4 separate regions of the Homo sapiens genome follow, and regions 1, 3 and 4 are each linked to region 2. Evidence: promoter capture Hi-C in 16 types of primary human blood cells and fetal thymus (Javierre and others, 2016). All regions are on one chromosome and are shown on one strand. The core of a region is centred on a gene start or on the middle of the fragment in contact, and the rest is flanking DNA. Distances in the headings are between cores, read along the strand shown. Region 1 has its middle 6.7 kb from the start of AUH. Region 2 holds the start of CKS2 (CDC28 protein kinase regulatory subunit 2). Region 3 holds the start of IARS1 (isoleucyl-tRNA synthetase 1). Region 4 overlaps TUT7 (terminal uridylyl transferase 7).

Evidence for each region. The method cuts DNA at HindIII sites, captures the fragments that hold promoters and counts their contacts. A CHiCAGO score of 5 or more calls a contact.
Region 1: a contact is called between a fragment that was not itself captured here and the fragment with the promoter of CKS2 in region 2, in 1 of 17 cell types (neutrophils). The highest score is 5.4, in neutrophils.
Region 3: a contact is called between the fragment with the promoter of IARS1 here and the fragment with the promoter of CKS2 in region 2, in 1 of 17 cell types (total B cells). The highest score is 5.3, in total B cells.
Region 4: a contact is called between a fragment that was not itself captured here and the fragment with the promoter of CKS2 in region 2, in 1 of 17 cell types (total CD8 T cells). The highest score is 5.1, in total CD8 T cells.

The regions. Positions count from the first base shown.
Region 1 is chr9:91,366,184-91,371,054 of GRCh38, reverse strand. No RefSeq gene overlaps it. Among named protein-coding and RNA genes, the nearest start is that of AUH, 6.7 kb to the right of the region's middle. The HindIII fragment of the contact is 7,448 bases long and covers 1-4,871 here.
Region 2 is chr9:89,309,020-89,313,769 of GRCh38, reverse strand. It overlaps CKS2 (CDC28 protein kinase regulatory subunit 2), which reads right to left and starts at 2,575. Exons shown (of 3, transcript NM_001827.3): 1 at 2,419-2,575. The coding sequence starts at 2,477. MIR3153 (microRNA 3153) reads right to left here and starts at 1,545; the gene lies at 1,464-1,545. It overlaps LOC105376136 (a long non-coding RNA gene), which reads left to right and starts at 2,968. Exons shown (of 3, transcript XR_930101.4): 1 at 2,968-4,404. RefSeq lists enhancers at 2,020-2,069, 2,740-3,029 and a silencer at 3,040-3,269. The HindIII fragment of the contact is 1,703 bases long and covers 1,823-3,525 here.
Region 3 is chr9:92,292,447-92,297,256 of GRCh38, reverse strand. IARS1 (isoleucyl-tRNA synthetase 1) reads left to right here and starts at 3,560. Exons shown (of 34, transcript NM_002161.6): 1 at 3,560-3,646. MIR3651 (microRNA 3651) reads left to right here and starts at 4,710; the gene lies at 4,710-4,799. It overlaps SNORA84 (small nucleolar RNA, H/ACA box 84), which reads left to right and starts at 4,664; the gene lies at 4,664-4,796. RefSeq lists an enhancer at 3,129-3,178. The HindIII fragment of the contact is 5,187 bases long and covers 79-4,810 here.
Region 4 is chr9:86,340,422-86,344,754 of GRCh38, reverse strand. It overlaps TUT7 (terminal uridylyl transferase 7), which reads left to right. Exons shown (of 27, transcript NM_024617.4): 6 at 1,592-1,680; 7 at 3,702-3,753. Among named protein-coding and RNA genes, the nearest start is that of TUT7, 12 kb to the left of the region's middle. The HindIII fragment of the contact is 1,913 bases long and covers 2,041-3,953 here.

The DNA of each region.
Region 1 (4,871 bases), core at 1,024-3,523, 2.1 Mb before region 2:
GTGAGCCTAGATCACGCCACTGCACCACTCCAGCCTGGGCGACAGAGCGAAAAAACAAAACAAAACAAAAACAACGAAATCTCCAAACTGCTTTCCACCATGGCTGAACTAATTTACATTCTCACCAGCAATGTATAAGCATTCCCTTTTGTCTGCAGCCTTGCCAACATCTGTTATTTTTTGACTTTTTAATAATAGCCATTCTGACTGGTATGAGATGGTATCTCATTGTGCAGGGGTCCCCACCTCCCAGGCCATGGACTGGTACTGGTCCACGGCCTGTTAGGAACCGGGCCATACAGCAGGAGGTGAGAGGTGGGCCAGTGAGCATTACCACCCAAGCCCCCGCCTCCTGTCACATCAGGGGGGGCATGAGATTCTCAGAGGAGCCAAACTCTATTGTGAACTGTGCATACAAGGGATCTAGGTTGAGTGTTCCTTATGTATAAAACCCTAATGCCCAATGATCAGAGGTGGAACAGTTTCATCCCCATTCCCTCCCGCCCCCACCCCTGGCCCAGTCCATGGAAAAATTGTCTTCCATGAAACCGGTCACTGATCCAAAAAAGTTGGGGACCACTGTCATTGTGGTTTTTATTTGCATTTATTTGATAATTAGTGATATTGAGCATTTTTTCATGTTAGCTGACTGTATGTCTTCTTTTGAGAAGTGTCTGTTAATGTCCTTTGCCCATTGTTTATTTTTTATTTTTATTTTTTGAGACAGGATCTCACTCTCAGTCAGGCTGGAATGCAGTGGCCCGATCTCAGCTCACTGCAACCTCTGACTCCCAGGCTCAAACAATCCTCCTACTTCAGCTCCCCACCCCAGTAGCTGGGACTACAGATGTGTGTCACCACGCCTGGCTAATTTTTATATTTTTAGTAGAGATGGAGTTTTGCCATGTTGTCCAGGCTGGTCTCCAACTCCTGAGCCCAAGTGGTCTGCCTGCCTCGGCCTCCCAAAGTGCTGGAATTATAAGTGTGAGCCACCATGCCTGGCAGCTTTGCCCATTTTTAAATGAGGTTATTTGTTTCATTCTTGTTGATTTGTTTAAGGTCTTTATAGATTCTGGATATTAGGGTGTGCTGGATGCATAGTTTGTAAATATTTCTCCTGTTCTGTAGGGTGTCTGTATACTCTGTTAATGGTTTCTTTTGCTGTGCAGAAGCTCTGTAATTTAATAAGGTCCCACTTATCAATTTTTGCTTTTCTTGCAATTGCTTTTGAGGACTAAGCCGTAAATTCTTTGTCTAGATGGATGTTCACAAGAGTATTTCCTAGGTTTTCTTCTCTGATTGTTACAGTTTGAGGTCTTAAATTTAAGTCTTTATTTCATCTTGAGTTATTTCCCTTGTATATGGTGATAGATAGGGGTCCAGTTTCATTCTTCTACATATGGTTAGACAGTTTCCCCAGCACCATTTACTGAAAAGAGAGTTGGAAAGATGGTCTTATAAGGAGAAGACATACCAGGGATGTGCACGCACAGAGGAAAGGCCGTGTAAGAACACAGGAAGGAGACACCATCTGCGAGCCAAAGAGAGAGACCTCAGAAGGAACCAGTCCTGCTGACACCTTGATCTCGAACTTACAGCTTCCAGAACTTTGAGGAAATAAATGTCTATTGTTTAAACTGCCCAGTGTGTGGTATTTGTTATGGCAGCCCGAACTGACTGACATATCCTCTTCAGTACCCTTTACTCCATAGAAGGTTGGTTGATTTAGAGGAGAGAATAACATTCTCATCCACTAGACAAGCGCTTAAGCGACAAGGCACAATGAACCCAAAGACTATAAACAAGAGGGGGCTAAGACCATAGATGTCTAGTTATACCCTGATAGAGCAGGTATTCCTTTTACCTATTTGGAGGGGTATGAGGGAGATACCACCTATCTTACAACTAAGAGGGTTAAAAGCAATAGGGTGGGCCTCCTGATCTTAGACTTAAAATTTTATGAACAATTTCTATCCTAGACCTGCTGAAAGCAGACAAGAATATCATATTATGTTATTACAATAGTATATCACTGATTAATATCTGTCTTTACTACTTTAACTACTGTTGGCTTTATCTTTGACACCTTCCTCAGGTAGGGCAGAGTATCTACATGAATTATTGGAAATTCTTCTGCTTGGGAGTTTGGTCTCTTCTCATTTAACTATTCAATCATTTATCTGTATCAGTATGTATACATGGATATTTATTTTATGCTTTCGGATATCATGCTATGCCACTTTATTCTATTGTTCATCTTGTTCCAGCTGTGGCCACTGGGAACTCTCTCAGTTGGTTCCTGCATCTCTTTGACATCTGCCCATCATTTTGGGGTTATTTTGAACACTTTCTTATTTTCTGGCACCACAACATCCTTCAGGCTCATCTTGTATATTTCCTGCCCCAGTCCTAGAATCACCCATTTCTCCAAGGATCAATGGGGAATTCTTTTTTACTGGAGGATGGTATTAGAAACCAAGATCTGACACTAGGTGTGCTCATTGTCGATGGTGTGTTATTGCTTCTAGTTCATCTTAGCTGACAGAGCAGGAGTGTGTGTATACTCATGTGTGCATATGTACTTATCTGTAGATGTTTCTATGTGTATCCATCTATATCTATATTAAGCTAAACATGAGTTCATACTGATGTTTCCAGTGCTAAACCCTTATCAAACAAATCATCCTGGCCTCCTTCCCTTGCTTATCTGTAGTCTCCCATACCAACAGGGAGAAACTGGCTTCTACCATCTGCCATCCATTTACTTAATTGTTCACTGATATCTTTAAAAAATGCTAAATGTTTCTATCAATTACTAGCATGGTTCTCTTCAACATTCTAATTGTCCCAGGCAAGGCCAGTAGAAACCCTTCCGAGCTGTGGTCTTTCACATTTCTGTCAATTGTGGAGCACTTCAGTGTTTTCTGGCACAAGGAGATATTCTGATCTCACCTAGTTTTTCTCTGTCTCAGACACTCAATCAGTCATCTCTTCAAGGATCCCAAATCCTGTCTCCTGACTTTTGCAGCAGCTTTATTGAAGTATTATTCACATGCCAAGCAATCCCCCGATTTAACATATACAATTAAATGGTTTTTGGTATATTCTCAGAGTTTGTGCAACCATCATACAATAAACTTAGGACATCCTTATCATCCCCAAAAGATGCCATGTACCTTTTTGATCTCATCCCCTAGTCTCCCCATCCCTCTCATCCTGAGATGACGAAGGTTTGTATTTTCAGGACATGGCACATGTGTTTGCATATTTGCATGTATGCACGTATACACAATCAGCAACTATGGAATTGTCAGGGGGAAGAAGCAGTATCTGGGAAATCGTGACCATGCAGGATCCAACGCAGTGGGTGAAATTTCCAAATGAAATGATAATAGAAGGGCTTGATAAAACTCCCTACTGATTGGGGTCAGAGTAGTGGTGGAGAAGATGAAGCCCTTACAATCAATTAGGAAAAGCAAACAAAAGAAAGTCATGATTAAGAACTCAGGTTTTTGGAGTGGAGTGTTTGAGTTCCAGTTCCAGCTTTGTTATTTATTAGCTATGTAACTTTCAGTAATTTATGCCTCTCTTTACTTGTCTGTATAATGTCTACTCTTCTCCAGAGGTCATGGAGCTCATAGGCACACATGGTTGCTACCTAAAATGAGACCTACAATACCTTGGTGGGGGTGGATTGCAGTGTCTGGTCAAGGAGTCTCTGCAGGGCAGAGTGAGAGAGGGTGTCTTCAAACATACCTTTTCTCTGGGGGTAGTGTCCTTGGGTAAGGCTTACTGGATCCCTTCAAGGCTCTAGAGATTGGATTTTCTGGATTTGACATCCAATCCCTCCTTTTGGAGGTAAGTACTCAGACTAGATGGGAAAAGACCTTCTGGAGTGAAAGGCCACCATGGGGCTTATGATATCGTGATATACTAAGAAAAAGATATTTGGTCCTTGCCTTAGTCCATTTTGCATTGCTATAAAAGAATACCTGAGGCTGGGTAGTTTCTAAAGAAAGGAGGTTTGTTTGCCTCACAGTTCTGCTGGATGTAGAAGAAGTAGAAGCAGGTCAGGAGATTAGTGGGTGTAGTACTCTGAATACTCCAGCTTTTCCACTCTTTCACTCTTGCCATTTCTTCCTTTTTTTTTTAATTATTATTTTTTTCAGTGGCAGAGTCTTGCTATGTTGCCCAGATTGACCTTGAACTCCTGGGCTCAAGCAATCCTCCTGCTTCAACCTCCCAATGCACACCACCACACCTGGCTATACTCTTCTCATTTCAAACAACAAGCCCTACCCGCCTTTTCCCAAACTGATACTCATTATTCCTGTTTCATACTTGACAATCTTTCATTGAAAAGTAGAAATTCCAGAGGTCATGACATTTTATTGAGTACCTTAACATTTATTGAAAGGCTGTTCTAACTAGTGATTAAGAATATGGGCTTTGGCTGGGCCCACTGGCTCACACATATAATCCAGCGCTTTGGGAGGCTGAGGCAGAAGGACGGCTTGAGCCTAAGTTCAAAACCAGCTTGGGTAACATAGTGACACCCTTGTTTCTAGTAAAAAAAAAAAAAAATTAAAAGATTTTTAAAAAAGAAAAAGAACATGAGCTTTGGAGTCAGATGTATCAGTATTTGAATTCCAGCTCCATGGCTTCCCAGATGCAGTCTTTGGTAAGTAACTTAATCTCAGTTTCCTCATCTATAAAAATGGGGGTAGTAATACCAACTTGAAAGTTTCCTGAACATTAAATAAGACAGCGAAATGCCTTCTTAAATAGACTAAGAAGGAAGTTGGTAAATGGTAGCTAATATTTCCACGCTGCTCTATTTCTTTCTTGGTGCCAAGTGTTTTACATACTTA
Region 2 (4,750 bases), core at 1,326-3,825:
ATAATCTGTTATCTTATTTCTACGTTCTATCTTGTTGATTATTCTCAAAGAGAAATGTAGTGCTTTTGTACCTTTTCTATCAAACTTACAGAGTACATAAATCTACCAACAAGTTATTTAGATAGAAGTTACCACCCTTCTCCATAAACACGGAAACAGGCTCTCCTCCATCAGGGTTTCTTTATAAAGGAAAAATGTTTAAGTAGCATCAACCCCATATGAGGATTCTACCTGTATTTTGCCACACAGAGATTTCAAACTAACTACATGTAAGGAAAATTATTTCCAAAATCTAACGTTTATTTCAGTTGAAATGCAAAATAGTGCAAGTATTACTAATTTGTAAGGCTGCCCAGAAAAATTAACAGTTTTTCTCTTGTGAAAACAGACTTCCATGATGTGGGGGTGGGGGCACCCACTGTTATGCCCTTAGAAACATTAAGACCCTCACGTAAAAGGACTAGGAAATTAAGTTTGTAATTAAGAAAAATCAAAGAAAGATAGAGATAACTGCACACTGGGAAAAATAAATACTAGCCTTTGAAATTTACATTGCATGCTGCACCATTACATATTAATACAAACCACCCTAGACTCATGCCTTAGTGCTATATTATTACTAGTTTCCCCTTTAAAATTATGTGTGGAAATTACTATCCTGTTTCATAAAGGTTACTGGCTTGGCCAATTAATACCAGCTCTAATTTTTATTGGATTAAAATACATCACTTCAGATATGTAAACTTTCTTCTATACATTACCACACACAAATCATTTGAGTATATTAAAACTAAAAAATCGACCTACTGCCATCAGAAAGAAGTCTGAGAAATAGCTTCATTTATTTTCAATATTATACCCTAAAAGAAACTTGTACCGACCCTTAAATCCTTATCCTAAACACTTGGCACCAGATGTGTTTCAGAATAATTTTCTAGGTTTTAGTAAGATTATTACGGTTTACATTGTGTTCATTATTGGATATCCTCAATAGGGCTCTTGATTAACATCGCATAATTGAACACTGCCAGCATATTACACGAGTATAGTTTATTATTACTATAAGGTTAACACAATCTACTTGAAATTTACCTACAGCCAGAAAAACATGCTATTTTTCTAGCTAGGAATACAAAAGGGTGCAATTACTACTACCCATAGAAATATTCAGTAGTCCTCATGTGAAAACAGACTTCCATGCTACTAGGGAGGGGGAGAAAAAGAGAAACCACCCACTGTTTTGTTCTTTCTTCCTTAAATAGCATTCGGAGAAATCTAACCTACAAAGGCAGCAGACAGAAAACAAGGTCACAATTTGGCCAACGATGGCATGGGCTTTATCTCCCCTAAATCTTGGTAGTATCCCAGAACGCAGCGTTCTAGTCGCTACCTAGTTAAGAAAAAGGGGTTGACTGTTTTCTGAAGCCACGCCCTAAATGAAGTGTCCCGCATACAGTAAGGACAACAAATTTTAAATGTCCCTACTCGCTTTCCCCCAATCTACTTTAATTGGGGGGAAGGGGACAGGGACATTTAAAATTTGTCTAATTTTACTGATCGATTACAGCCACCATGTTCTAGTACGGTGCTTCAGGACTCAAACGCAAAAGTTTCTCAAAGCCCAAAATTTGGCCAGTGTATACTAGCAGAAAATGATGCCCAAAGTCCACTCAAGTTCTTAATCGGCCTTAAAATGAAACTCCTTTAATAATACCCTCAATTGTATGACTGCGGCTAACCTATAATGGCCCAAATCACCATACCCAGTAAACATTTTCGAATCCCCATCAAGCTCATTTTTCGGGGGGTCGCCTCCAAAGCTTATTCTTATACCACTCACTTCAAAAACAAGAAAAAGAAAAGTGTTCCTCTGTGTTAACAGATGAAAATGACCATTTGACCATTCTAAACCACAAACTAGTAAAAGCTGCATCACCCCGTCAGCGACAGGGAAAGTGTGTCACGGTTGCTAAAGGAAAAAGGACGGCACCAGGTGGGTTTTCCTGGACTGGTTCAAAGAACTGGAACTGAGACCAGCTACTGAACGGCCTAATTACTTCGGCCACGGCCGAGAAAAAAGTGACGGGATGGTCACTCCGCGTCGCCGAGGACCCCATGACCCCCAAGTTGCGCCGGTTCCTACCCAGGTACTAAATGCGGCCCGGTGGGCACTCTTCCCTCACCCTCCGCGCACACCGAACAAAGGCCCAACCGGCCCGGCGCGGCCAGGCACCCAACCATGTCCGACTGCGCGGGGCGCCAGGTGGCCGCGACCCCAAACCCCGGCCCTCGCCCTCCGGCCCCGGGCTCCGCCCCCCAGGCCCCGGCCCCCACCCCCGACCCTACTATGCCTGGGTCGCCCCGCCCGCGGGGGCCCCGGCTGAGGGAGCCGGCTCGGGGTCTAAGAAAGGCGCCCACCGGTACTCGTAGTGTTCGTCGAAGTACTTGTCCGAGTAGTAGATCTGCTTGTGGGCCATCCTGCTGGCGCGCTGCAGAAAATGAAACGAGAGCGCGAAGAGCGGGCGCAGCAGACAAAACCACGTCCAGCCCAGGCAACAACTCGCCGGAGACTAACGACCGCAGTCCCAACGATCCGGATTTGAATCCGACAGCCCGCCGCCGATTGGACAGCAGCGCCGACCAATCACCTTCTGCGGAAGTCGGCCGGCTGCCAGCCTATCGTCGCCGCCGCCTCGCAAAGTCCGCTTCCTGGGTCAGCCAATCAGAGATCTGTTGCGAGGTTGCCCGAGGGAAGATAGGTACGTCACGGGGGTGGCAGGGCCCTTAACGGGCAGGGGCGTGGCCAGAGGAGGGCGAAGTCGGGACGTTAAGGGCCGCAGAGCGCGTGCGCAGGAACGTGGAAAGTTCCAGGACACGGAACCGTTGGGACGGAGGACCTGAAGGTGGAGTGAGGTATCACGGGGTTTGGTGATGACGTAGTCGGTCGAGGCCGGAAGCGTGGGCCACAGGGCTTTGAGCGGAAGCTGTCGACCTTGCACGGTGATGGCGCTCCTCGTGATCCCTTGTATCCCCTCAGGCTCGAGCCAGGAGCCTAGGTCCACTTTGAAAAGTAGTAAAAGGCAGAAAGGTTCTGCGGTGTGAGGGGGAGGGCGGCTTCGTGGTCGGCTGGGTCGGGGGAGCGCCGGGCGGCCGCGGCGTGGCTGTGTCCGGGGCTGCCCTGCGCAGCCGGCCGTTTCGCCGCCTGGTGCACTTGCTGAGCTTCCGGCCTGGCCCGTCGCGGGGCTCCTGGCGCCCCCCTAGACGACTGTGTGGAGAATGGAGCCTGCGGAGCCACGCGTAGAGAGAGGCCCGGAGCCGGCGCGGTGGCGGCGGGCGCCAGTGGTCCCAGCCACTCGGGAGGCCGAGGTGGAGTGTCGCTTGAGCCCAGGAGTTCCAGACAGGCCTGAGCAACAGAGCCAGACCCCGTCTCCACAAAGAAAGAAACAAATGGGCCAGAGACCCAGAATGCTTTCTGTAGCCTAACCTAATGTTCAAAACCAGGGCAGACCCAAGCCATGGAAAGCTTGAGGGAATAAAATAATATTCTGCTGCGGCCAAGAATAACAATGCTAATTCCTGGATAAGGGGATTTAAAATGATGTTTAACAACTTCTGGTCTTTTAATATTGACCCAAGTTTAAAAACATGTTCATATAAAAAAGTTACTGGAAGAAATTTATAAATGTAACTGGTGGTTATTTTTAGATGACAGAATTAAAAGTGATCTTTTTGGTATTTTTTCCACAACGAGCACGTGTCATTTTTATGTTAATTTCATTTTATGCGAAATGCTCCAGCGCAGTACAGGCTAGTGGGTTCAGGGTGGCTGTGACTAAGTAATGTAGATGGGGTACCTTAGACAAAGTTTCCAGACTAGAGGCTGGAAGTAAGAGGTCCGGGTGCCCTTTTCCACACTGCAGACCACGGACTTTTCCGGTTTCTGAACAAGTGAGACAGGCCGGCTAAGGACATTTATAATCTCCATGGGTGAGGGCCCCACCCTCATGACCATCTAATCTTGATTACCTCCCGAAGGCCCCACCTCCTAACTTCCTAATACAATCACTTCTTGGGGGAAGAGGGTGTTTGGAATTCCACCCCCCGCCCTTTTTTTTTTTTGGAGACAGTCTCACTCTGCTGCTCAGGCTGGAGTGCAGTGGTGTGATCTTGGCTCACTGCGACCTCCCCCTCCCAGGTTCAAGCCATTCTGCCTCAGCCTCCAGAGCAGCTGGGATTACAGGCCCAGCTAGTTTTTGTATTTTTAGTAGAAACGGGTTTTCATCATTTTGGCCAGGCTGGTCTCGAACTCCTGACCTCAAGTGAACTGCCCGCCTTGGCCTCGCAAAGTGCTGGGATCGTCAGAGGCAAGTGAACCAGAGCACCTTCATCTTAAACAGGAGCTGGGTAAGATGAGCCTAAAACCTACTGGGCTGCATTCCCAGACAGTTAAGGCATTCTAAGTCACAGGATGAAATGGGAGGTCAGCACAAAATACAGGTCATAAAGACCTTGTTGATGAAACAGGTTGCAGCAAAGGAGCCAGCCAAAACCCACCAAAACCAAAATGGCGAAGAGAGTGACTTTGGTCCTCACTGTTACACTCCCACCAGTGCCATGACAGTTTAGAAATGCCATGGCAACATCAGGAAGTTACCCTACATGGTCTAAAAAGGGGAGGCATGAATAATACACCCCTCGTTTAGCATATAAGCAAAAAATAACTATAAAAATGGGCAACCAGCAGCCCTCG
Region 3 (4,810 bases), core at 2,311-4,810, 3.0 Mb before region 2:
TCTTGTCATTGCCTCTAGGAATTAAGGAACAACATCTAGATGTACACCAATCCCAAAATTCTAGTTAGACTAAAAGCTTATGAAAAATACCAAGTGCCTGAAAGATAGGTAGTCACAATTAGGAGTCAGGACCCTGAGCCCAAATAGGGAAACAGATTTAACATTACATTAAATAAACCAACCTGCCTAGATTTCAAGACATACGTCTCCTATCAAAATGGGCTCTGTATGAAATAGTATTACATAGGCCGGGCGTGATGGCGCACACCTGTAATCTCAGTACTTTGGGAGGCCAAGGCGGGCGGATCATGAGGAGGTCAGGATTTCAAGACCAGCCTGGCCAACATGGTGAAACCCCATCTCTACTAAAAATGCAAAAATTAGCTGGGTGTGGTGGCTCACACCTGTAATCCCAGCTGCTAGGGAGGCTGATACAGGAGAATCACTTGAACCCAGGAGGCAGAGGTTGCAGTGCTGAGATCATGTTGCTGCACTCCAGCCTGGGTAACAGAGTGAGACTCCATCTTAAAAAAAAAAAAAAAAAGAAATAGTATTATATAGTTCCAAGGGACTATCATTAAGCCATGATGTGTGTACCTAAAATTAGTATTTATTGATTTACCTATGCTGAATATAAACTCTTAACTGTTGGGATTTCATCTGGTGTGTTAACCATTATGACCCTAGGGCTTATGCTCTATGTTTTTTTAGTAAGGGTCCAAGGAACTAAATAACTTGAAGAGTAATTCTGGATTCCTAGGTTTCCAAAACTTCAGACTTCAAGGAGAGTGTGGACAACTAAGCAGCAGGATAAATAATTCACACTTTCTACCTTCTCTTGATGTAGATCACATTTGTACCTTATTTTCTATTGCTGCATAGCAAATCATCTCAGTAACAATCATTTATTTTATGCACAAATACTGCAATTTGGTCAACACTCACTAGGGACTGCTGATCTGTGCTGTGTGCTTTCACTGGGGTGGTTCAGCTAGGGCTACGGGATCTGTTTCTAAGATGGCCCACTCAGTGCCTGTTCATGGGCTTCCTTACAGCATAGCAAAAAAGCTCTAGGAGCAAGTGTTCTCAGAGGCAGGAAGCAGATGCTGCCTGTCTCTTAAGGCCTGGCCCAGAAACCGGCTCAGTCACTTCACTGTATTCTACAGGTTTAAACTGACACACAGCCCAACCAGACTGAAAGGGAGGGGACACAGATCCTCACTTCTTAGTGGGAGGAGTGTCAGAATGTGTGGCCGTAATTTAAATCCGGCACATGTTTCACAAGCAGACAAATAAGTAACATCAAGTAGCCTTGCCCACCCCCCAGTTCCTGCTCCCCAGATGAAACCACCTTCAGCAATTTAATTTCTCTAGTATTTACCTCCATGTTTCTACCTAACATGCTTATGCTCTGATTTCTTGGTTTTTCACTTCCAGACACTACATATTCTGAAAAGGTGAAAAAATTATTCACCTCTTCAGTCCAAGTAATATATTTTGACTACAGTTAACTTTTTTGCTGGAATTTTTTCATTTGCTTAACTTTTTCTAGACTTAGTCTTCCCATACCTTCCAACTGTGGGACATGATGAGGTTTCTCTTCAAATAGCCTGATCAATCCTTTATTCTTTAATTCACAGTGCCCCCCTCTTCCCTTTTTCTCCTCTTTCCTTTCTGCCTTTGTTACATGCCTAGACAGGCCACAGTACCAGGCGTTATCAGTACCAGCTCGTATTCCTTATCCGAAGAGAAGACTAGCTCTCTAGCTCATTACAGACAGCCCTTCCCCCTTTCCCCTCTCTCTTACGTGCCCACCTTATCTAAAGAAAGTTAAAATGTTTAGCCAACTGTGGTTATTTTAGATTGTGAGGCCCAACTCCGGCCAATGGAGAAAGGGTACAGGGGCAGGGTTTGTGTCAGGGATAAAGGTTCTCGTGCCCCTTTGTTCTGGTGTGCTCTCATGGTGACTGGCCAAGGAGAAGCACCCCTCTGCGCAGAAGTAAAATTGCTTTGCTGAAAATCCTTTGTTTGAATGTTCAATTTCCTTAGGATTTTGAGCATTATTTCCAACACAACAGTACTATTAATATAAATGTTTCTCAATCAAATTTTTAAATAATTAGACTTGGCCTACCTCACCTTTGTCCAGGAGCCCTCTGTCTGGCTCTATCTGGGCTCTCTGGATAGGTGACAAAAATGAACTGAACAAGGTGGCAACGTGAGGAATGTGAAAACTTCAAACACATTCCAAATACTTTCAGTTAATTAACAAGATTTGCAGCTATTAAATTATGTACGTTATGTGAGTATAGTCAGAACACTGAGTTACCCATGATGGAGGACATGAAACCACTTTAATCCTTCACACAGGGCCAAGACGGTAAGTAAAGTTAAATATATGCTGAACAGACTATCAAAATGTTCCTAAACTTAATAAGAAACTGCATTCTACCTATTCTAGGCCAGATAAATTTTTTATATCCCTCTAACGGATACAATAGGCAGCTACGGAACTACTCCCAATTTGGCAAGATCCAGAATTTCCTTTAGAGGCTCTGGGGCCAAAGCCCGAGGCCTACTGCCCTTTGCAAGGCTCCAGATTTTAACCAGCAGATCAGTAAGGTACCAAGCCGACTCATAGCAATGATAATAAGTATGCAGGCCGGGTGCAGTGGCTCATGCCTGTAATCCCAACAGTTAAGGAGGCTAAGGCAAGCAGATCGCTTGAGCCCACGAGTTTGACAGCAGCCTAGGCAACATAGCAAGACCCCGTTGCTACAGAAAATACAAAAATTAGCCGGGCGTGGTGGCGCTAGCCTGTAGTCCCAGCTACTTGGCCAGGGATGAGGTGCGAGGATCATCTGATCCGGGGAGGTTGAGGCTGCAGTGAGCCATGACCGTGCCACTGCACTCCAGCCTGGGCGACAGAATGAGACCGCTTCTCAAAAAAAGAAAAAAAAATCGTTTGTGCAATGTTTTCATTACCGGAAACATTTTAAGTAAAATACAATAAAACTTTTAAATCTGGTTGTCAGACCCTTCCTTCCCTTTTGTTATTATCGTTTCACGTAGCCATTTATGATAGGAGAAGCGGCTTTGGGGTCGGCGGCTCAGGGCCCAAAAGTATAATTATTAAAGCCACCTCTCCGGAAGTTGCTGTTTGTCGTTATCAATTTAGGTACGAAGTGTCCAGTCAGATAAATACTGACAAAAGCAAACAAGATGAAGAACATGAGCCCCGACCTCGGCGCCCCTTCCCAGTGGGCCGTCACCTACCCGGAGGTGCCCACAACCCGAGTGAGACCTCGGTCTACACTACTGCAACGGATACAAGCAGCACGCACAGCGCCGCCCTCAGCGCTGGTTCGTTTTCCACGTGGAGGCGCAAAACCAGCAAGCACCACTGTCGCACCATCCGAGCCAGTGGGCGCAATCATGTCCGGCGCGACCAATCGGCGCCTGGCTTGTTGGCAGGTGTCAGGCAGCGCGCACTGATTGGCCGGTGCGGAGCCTGTCTCCTTCACTGGATCCCGCATTTTCAGCGCGTTGCATCACCTCCGTGCGCCCGGTTGCAGCGTGGACGCCGGATGAGTTGCTTTTAGGCTTGCTGGCCCGCGGGGCTGTCCAGGCACGCGAGGCCCCTCAGGTACGCCCTCTCTTCCCTGCAGGATCCGGCCCTCAAAGACGAGGGTCACGCACGCGTTACAACCCCGAAACAGTAGCACAAGATTTAATTTTTAAAAGAGCGTGTTTCTTCGGGGCTTGCCGTTCGTTCGTTTCCAGCCTCAGGAATTTATGGTCGCCTTTTTGAATGAGGTAGTGTTTGAAATGAGTAAAATCTTTTTAAAATGATATACATAGTATAAATTGATATAGCTGTGACTTTATGTATAGGCAATACGTATTTTTATATGTCTTAATTTATTACCTTCAATGGCTGCGAGATACTTATTTTATTGATGTACCGTAATTTACTTCAGTCACCATGAATATTTAGATTGTTTTCAGTTATTTGCCTGGAGAAACAATTATTCGGTGAATGTCATTGTATACACATTTTGTACATTTGCATGAGTATACCTGTGGAGTCTATGTTAATAGGATATAACTAAATTGAGGAAACGTTTGAGACGGTCCCACTTTCAGGTTACATTTGACTTAATAGATTATGAAGACCTGAGAATAAAAGGAGAAACAGAAATGGATTTAGAGGAGAATGAAAAGGGGGAACAGAAATAGGCTTATAGGTAGGATCCACATGACTTGATGATTAATTGGTTGTGTGTATCTTCTGAGTAGTGTCAGGGGTGACTCAAAAATGTCATGCCTAAGTAATGGGAAGAATATTGGAACCACTAATACAGTAGTTTAAAAGGGAAGCAATTCTGGAAGGAATTATGAAATTTTAAACAAAACATGGTTTTAGTGTGCGTTTCTAAAATATATTGAGGCAAAATAATATGAAGTAATGTGAATAATATGTAGTTAATATCAGGGAGGGTGGTCTCGAAATTGCTGAACGGGAAGTTGAGGTTAAGGTGACCTGAAGGAGTTGTGGAGCAGCGAAGAGTCAAGGGCCTGGATTATAATAAGAGGGAAGCAAAGGGGATGGCATCCCTCTGCACAACAAGGTTGTTGTGCAAGGTTAACCTGCTCTGTCCCTGCCCTGTGGTTGCTGGATGCTGTTGTGCATGGACAGCTCTCCAGTGGATTCGATGGGCCATAGCAATCCTGTGATTTATGCATGGAGGCTGCTTCTCCTCAGCAGCTGCCATAGCCCGGTCGCTGGTACATGATTCTTCCTGAATAG
Region 4 (4,333 bases), core at 1,748-4,247, 3.0 Mb after region 2:
GTGTGAACTTTAAGTTGAATGCCCTGCATTATTGGGGCACTGTGGGACTCTTGTGTATGTATGTTTCCCTTTCCGCTCATCTAAATTGACACCATATTTTGAGTTAAAATCAAGAGAAGTATCCTGAAGTTATTTTCAGGTTATTCATGTCAAAAAAAAAAAAAAAGATTTTATTTAACTGTACTTAAGAGAATTGCAGCATCTAAAATGAACTTTGAAAACTAGTTTTAAGAAATTTGTATTGGATTTTGTGCACTGTTGAATTGATTTTCCAAGTTATGTCTGTCTTCTGCCTGTTTTTAACTTTAGACCTTTGGCATGATGGGGAGGGGGCACAACTATTTGGAGTGTATTACTATGAAAATTTAAGGTCAGGTATGTTCAATGCCTGACACAACTGCTGTCAATCCTTGATGGCAACAAACCCCACCCCACATCATCCCCCAACCCCCACTGGCCATTGCTGTTTAGGTAAATGGTTGGAATAGCTTCATCATTCTCAATTCTTGCTGTGCATCAGAATTATCTGTGAAGCCATGGACAACTATTTTTACAAAGCTCGACAAGTGATTCTGATCCACAGCTAGGGTTGGAATCATTATTTATATTTGTCACCTTATAAATCTTAAAACTGTTTGTTCTACTGAAAGATCATACATATAGTATTTGTAACGCATATACTTTCATAAGAATAAGGGAAAATAATCTCATTTTATTATACATGTATTTCCTGAAAAGTCAGTTGTAATTCTGATGATTTTTACTGTAAAATTTCATGTAAAAATGAATGTACTTTGTTGTGGAAAACTGCTAAAACCCAAAGAAATCACTTGAATTTTAGCAAACCTTAAACAAACAAGAAAACCAACCCCTGATGAGAAAGGATACTATTTTGGCATCATAGTAAAACACTGAAAATAAATGCTATACTATAGATAGTACTCATATACACACACATCTTCCTCTGAAGAGTGAAGTGTCTGCTACCTATGTCAGTGATATTGTAATTATTTTTCAAAAGTTTATTGGGATTTTGTTACAGCAAACGCTTTTTGTTCATAATATAATGAGAAATTCATATTAAATATGTCAAAAGATTATTTTTATTATTGTTTTACTAAAACCTCCTTATAGTAAATTACACCAATGGGTGCATTCTAAAAGGTGAAAAGAAACGTTTGCATTAGCTCTTGAATATACTATCAGGTTTATAAATTTAAACAAAGACATTCTTTTTCAACTGGCACATTTAAAAAAATATTTTAAATAGTATTTTCTTCATAAAATGTGATATTTAGATAATAGTATTTTATTCATAAAATACATGATAACGTAGCAATTTGACGTTTTACAACTGACATGAAGCGTGGCTGTTAAGCTAAATCATAGTTGATGCAGCCTTCCCTATTAAATTAAGTGAAGAGCAAAGAGCCACCTATTTCTGTCCTTTGTTTATGCTAGTCTTGAATACAAGTTTGCTTTTGTGTGTAATTTTAATTGATGGTTCTGCTTCTGAAATAGCAGTGTTTTGTTATAACTTTTGAGAAATTCTACTGTATTTATTACTTTTATTTATTTATTTATTTTTTAGATTGTTCCCTAAGATTATATGGGTCATCCTGTAGCAGATTGGGTTTCAAAAATTCGGATGTAAACATTGACATCCAGTTTCCAGCCATTGTAAGTACAAAATGAAATGCTGGCACTTTCAGAGTGGTATGGAAATTCTTTCTTACAAATGTAAACTGTCTATGAATATATTTTAGATATTTGAAGATATTTTAAGTGTAATGACAGCATCCGCTTGCCTTCAGTTTCAGAGCTTTTTTTTTTAATACTCTGCAAATTTTCATACTTATTTTAGTCTATAGATCTTTTATACATCCAACACTGGTTTTTCAACCATGTGCACCTGATGGGGGTGTTTAGGTTCTGTTACTTAAAAAGAGTAAATTTTCTTGATAAAATCAACTTTCCAGTGGCAGAAAGGGAATTCAGATTTTAAAGTGTAGATATTTAAACATTTATGATCTGCAAGCTTAATTGTCTCTGGAGTTTCCTCTTTTTGTATACCTATTTTGTTAAAATAATTAGGCTTTTAAAGAATCACACCTAGCCTGGATTTCTGGTTTAAACATGATTTAAAAGTATGTTGATGAGTTAGAATTTTAAAACTGGAGTGTAGCTGGACACGGCACAGTTCTGTAGTCCCAGCTACTCTGGAGGTTGAGGCGGGAGGATCACGAGCCCAGAAGTTCAAAGCTGTAGTTAGCTGTGACTGCACTTGAGAATTGCCACTGCATTCCAGCCTGGGCAACATAGTGAGACCCTATCTCTTAAAAAAACAAAAAACTGAAAGGCACTTTAGTAGATTATCCATTTCTCTGCTGTTAGTTCCCACAGGCCTGTTTATAGATGATGTGTTTGCAGTTACTTGGGTTGCTTGTTAAAAATCCATATTCTGAGCTGGGTGCAGTGGCTTCACCCTCTAATCCCAGCTACTCGGGAGACTGAGGTTGGAGGGTTACTTGAGCCCAGGAGTTCATGAACAGCCTGGCCAGCCCCACCTCTCTCAAAAAAAATCCAGATTCTGGGGCCCCAGAGGTTCTATTTTACAACCTCTTACTTCTTGCTAAACCTGAGTGCTGTAGCTACCTGGTAAGCTACCCAATAGACTGTTTTTTTAACCTTAAATTCTGATCAGTGATTTACCAGCCATAGCAGTTATTTTGATCCGGTGTCATTAATTCATTTAGCAAATATTCACTCATCCCATTTGTATGGCAGACATACTAGGTTATAAAGGACAAAACAGAGATGGTTCCTCTTTATGGAACTCATCTAGTAAAGGAGATTAGTAATTACCTTGTAATTATAGTGAGAGCTGTGCAGGTAAAGGTTCAGGGATAGAAAATGACAAGGTCTGGGCAGAGATACAGCAGTCATGAAGGCTTCTTTGAAGAGGGAACATTTAAGCTGAGTTCTAAAAGACGAAAAGGAGCCTGCAGGAGAGGGGGAAACGGGAGGGAAAAGAGTTTCAGGCAGGGGGAGCAGCATTTGCAAATACCCTAAATCAATAAAGAGTTTGGCATATTCAAGGAGCTAAAAGAAAGGTTGTGTAAGTATGGTGAAGGGACCAAGAAAAAGAAGAGCAGGAGATTAGGATGGCTAGGTAGGCTGGGCTTGACTGGCCGAATTGTGTAGACCATGGTAAATAAAGAATTTGGTTTTGACCTAAGGGCAGTAAGAAGTCATTGAGAGTTGTAAGGATACAGTTTATGATTTTAAATGGCCCTGGCTCCATTGCGAAACAAGGATTTTAAAAAGAAGTGCAAGACTGACTCCGGGACCAGTAAGCTATCTGTTGCAATGGTATTAGAGTGAAAGGTAATATTGTTAGCAGTTTGACAAACTTCCAGCTACCACTTTGAGACTTGCTGAGAGGCAGGTTAACCTCAATAATTAGTTAAATCAGAAGTTAGTTGTATAGTAGGTCTCTTGCCCACATTTGTCTTCATTTGGTGTTGATCTGTCTGTCTTTGACTGACATATGCAAACAACATAGTGAGTAATTTCTTTACTTTGATAGCAATGTGCATTTCTCATTTAGAAAGGAATTTGGGGAACTTCGGATGACTCTTATATCAGTGAAGCAAAATCACTTAGGAATAATTTCATGTATTCATTGATTTATTTCCTAGATGTCTCAGCCAGATGTCCTCTTACTTGTTCAAGAATGTTTAAAGAACAGTGGTAAGGCCAAATTCCACATTTAAAAAATTTTTATGTTGTCTATAATTTGGATCTATCTTATTTCTCAAACTTTGAAAATAGCAAGGCATGCTTTTAAAATTATTTATGTGGGTAATATCCAAAGCAAATGCCCATGAATTATTAACTAGAGTCCTGTTAGTAGTTCTACTATGCAGAATAACCATTTCATAAGTAAAGCTTTTAGCTTGATGACATCATCACTATTTATAAAGATTAAATGAGTCCTAGATGTGACTAAGAAATGCAAAATATGTAAAATGTACTCTTGAGGGTAAAACTGAAGGATAATCTGCTTTTATCAATGGTTAAAATCAGTATTTTACCAACAGTGAATAGGTGTAACCCAACCCTAATTAATGAATCCACAGAGTGGTGCCCATTTAGGTTTATCAGTTGTCTAATACAATGTCCAGCTTGGGGCTTTATGGCTCTTTGTGTTTTACATAGTCCTTATGAAACTGTGTCATCTCTTGAATTAGTCATCCCCATCCTCCTTGTTTTGGTTAAATTTTGTCTTCGATCAATACATATTTTGACACTGAATATTTTAGTAGCTTTT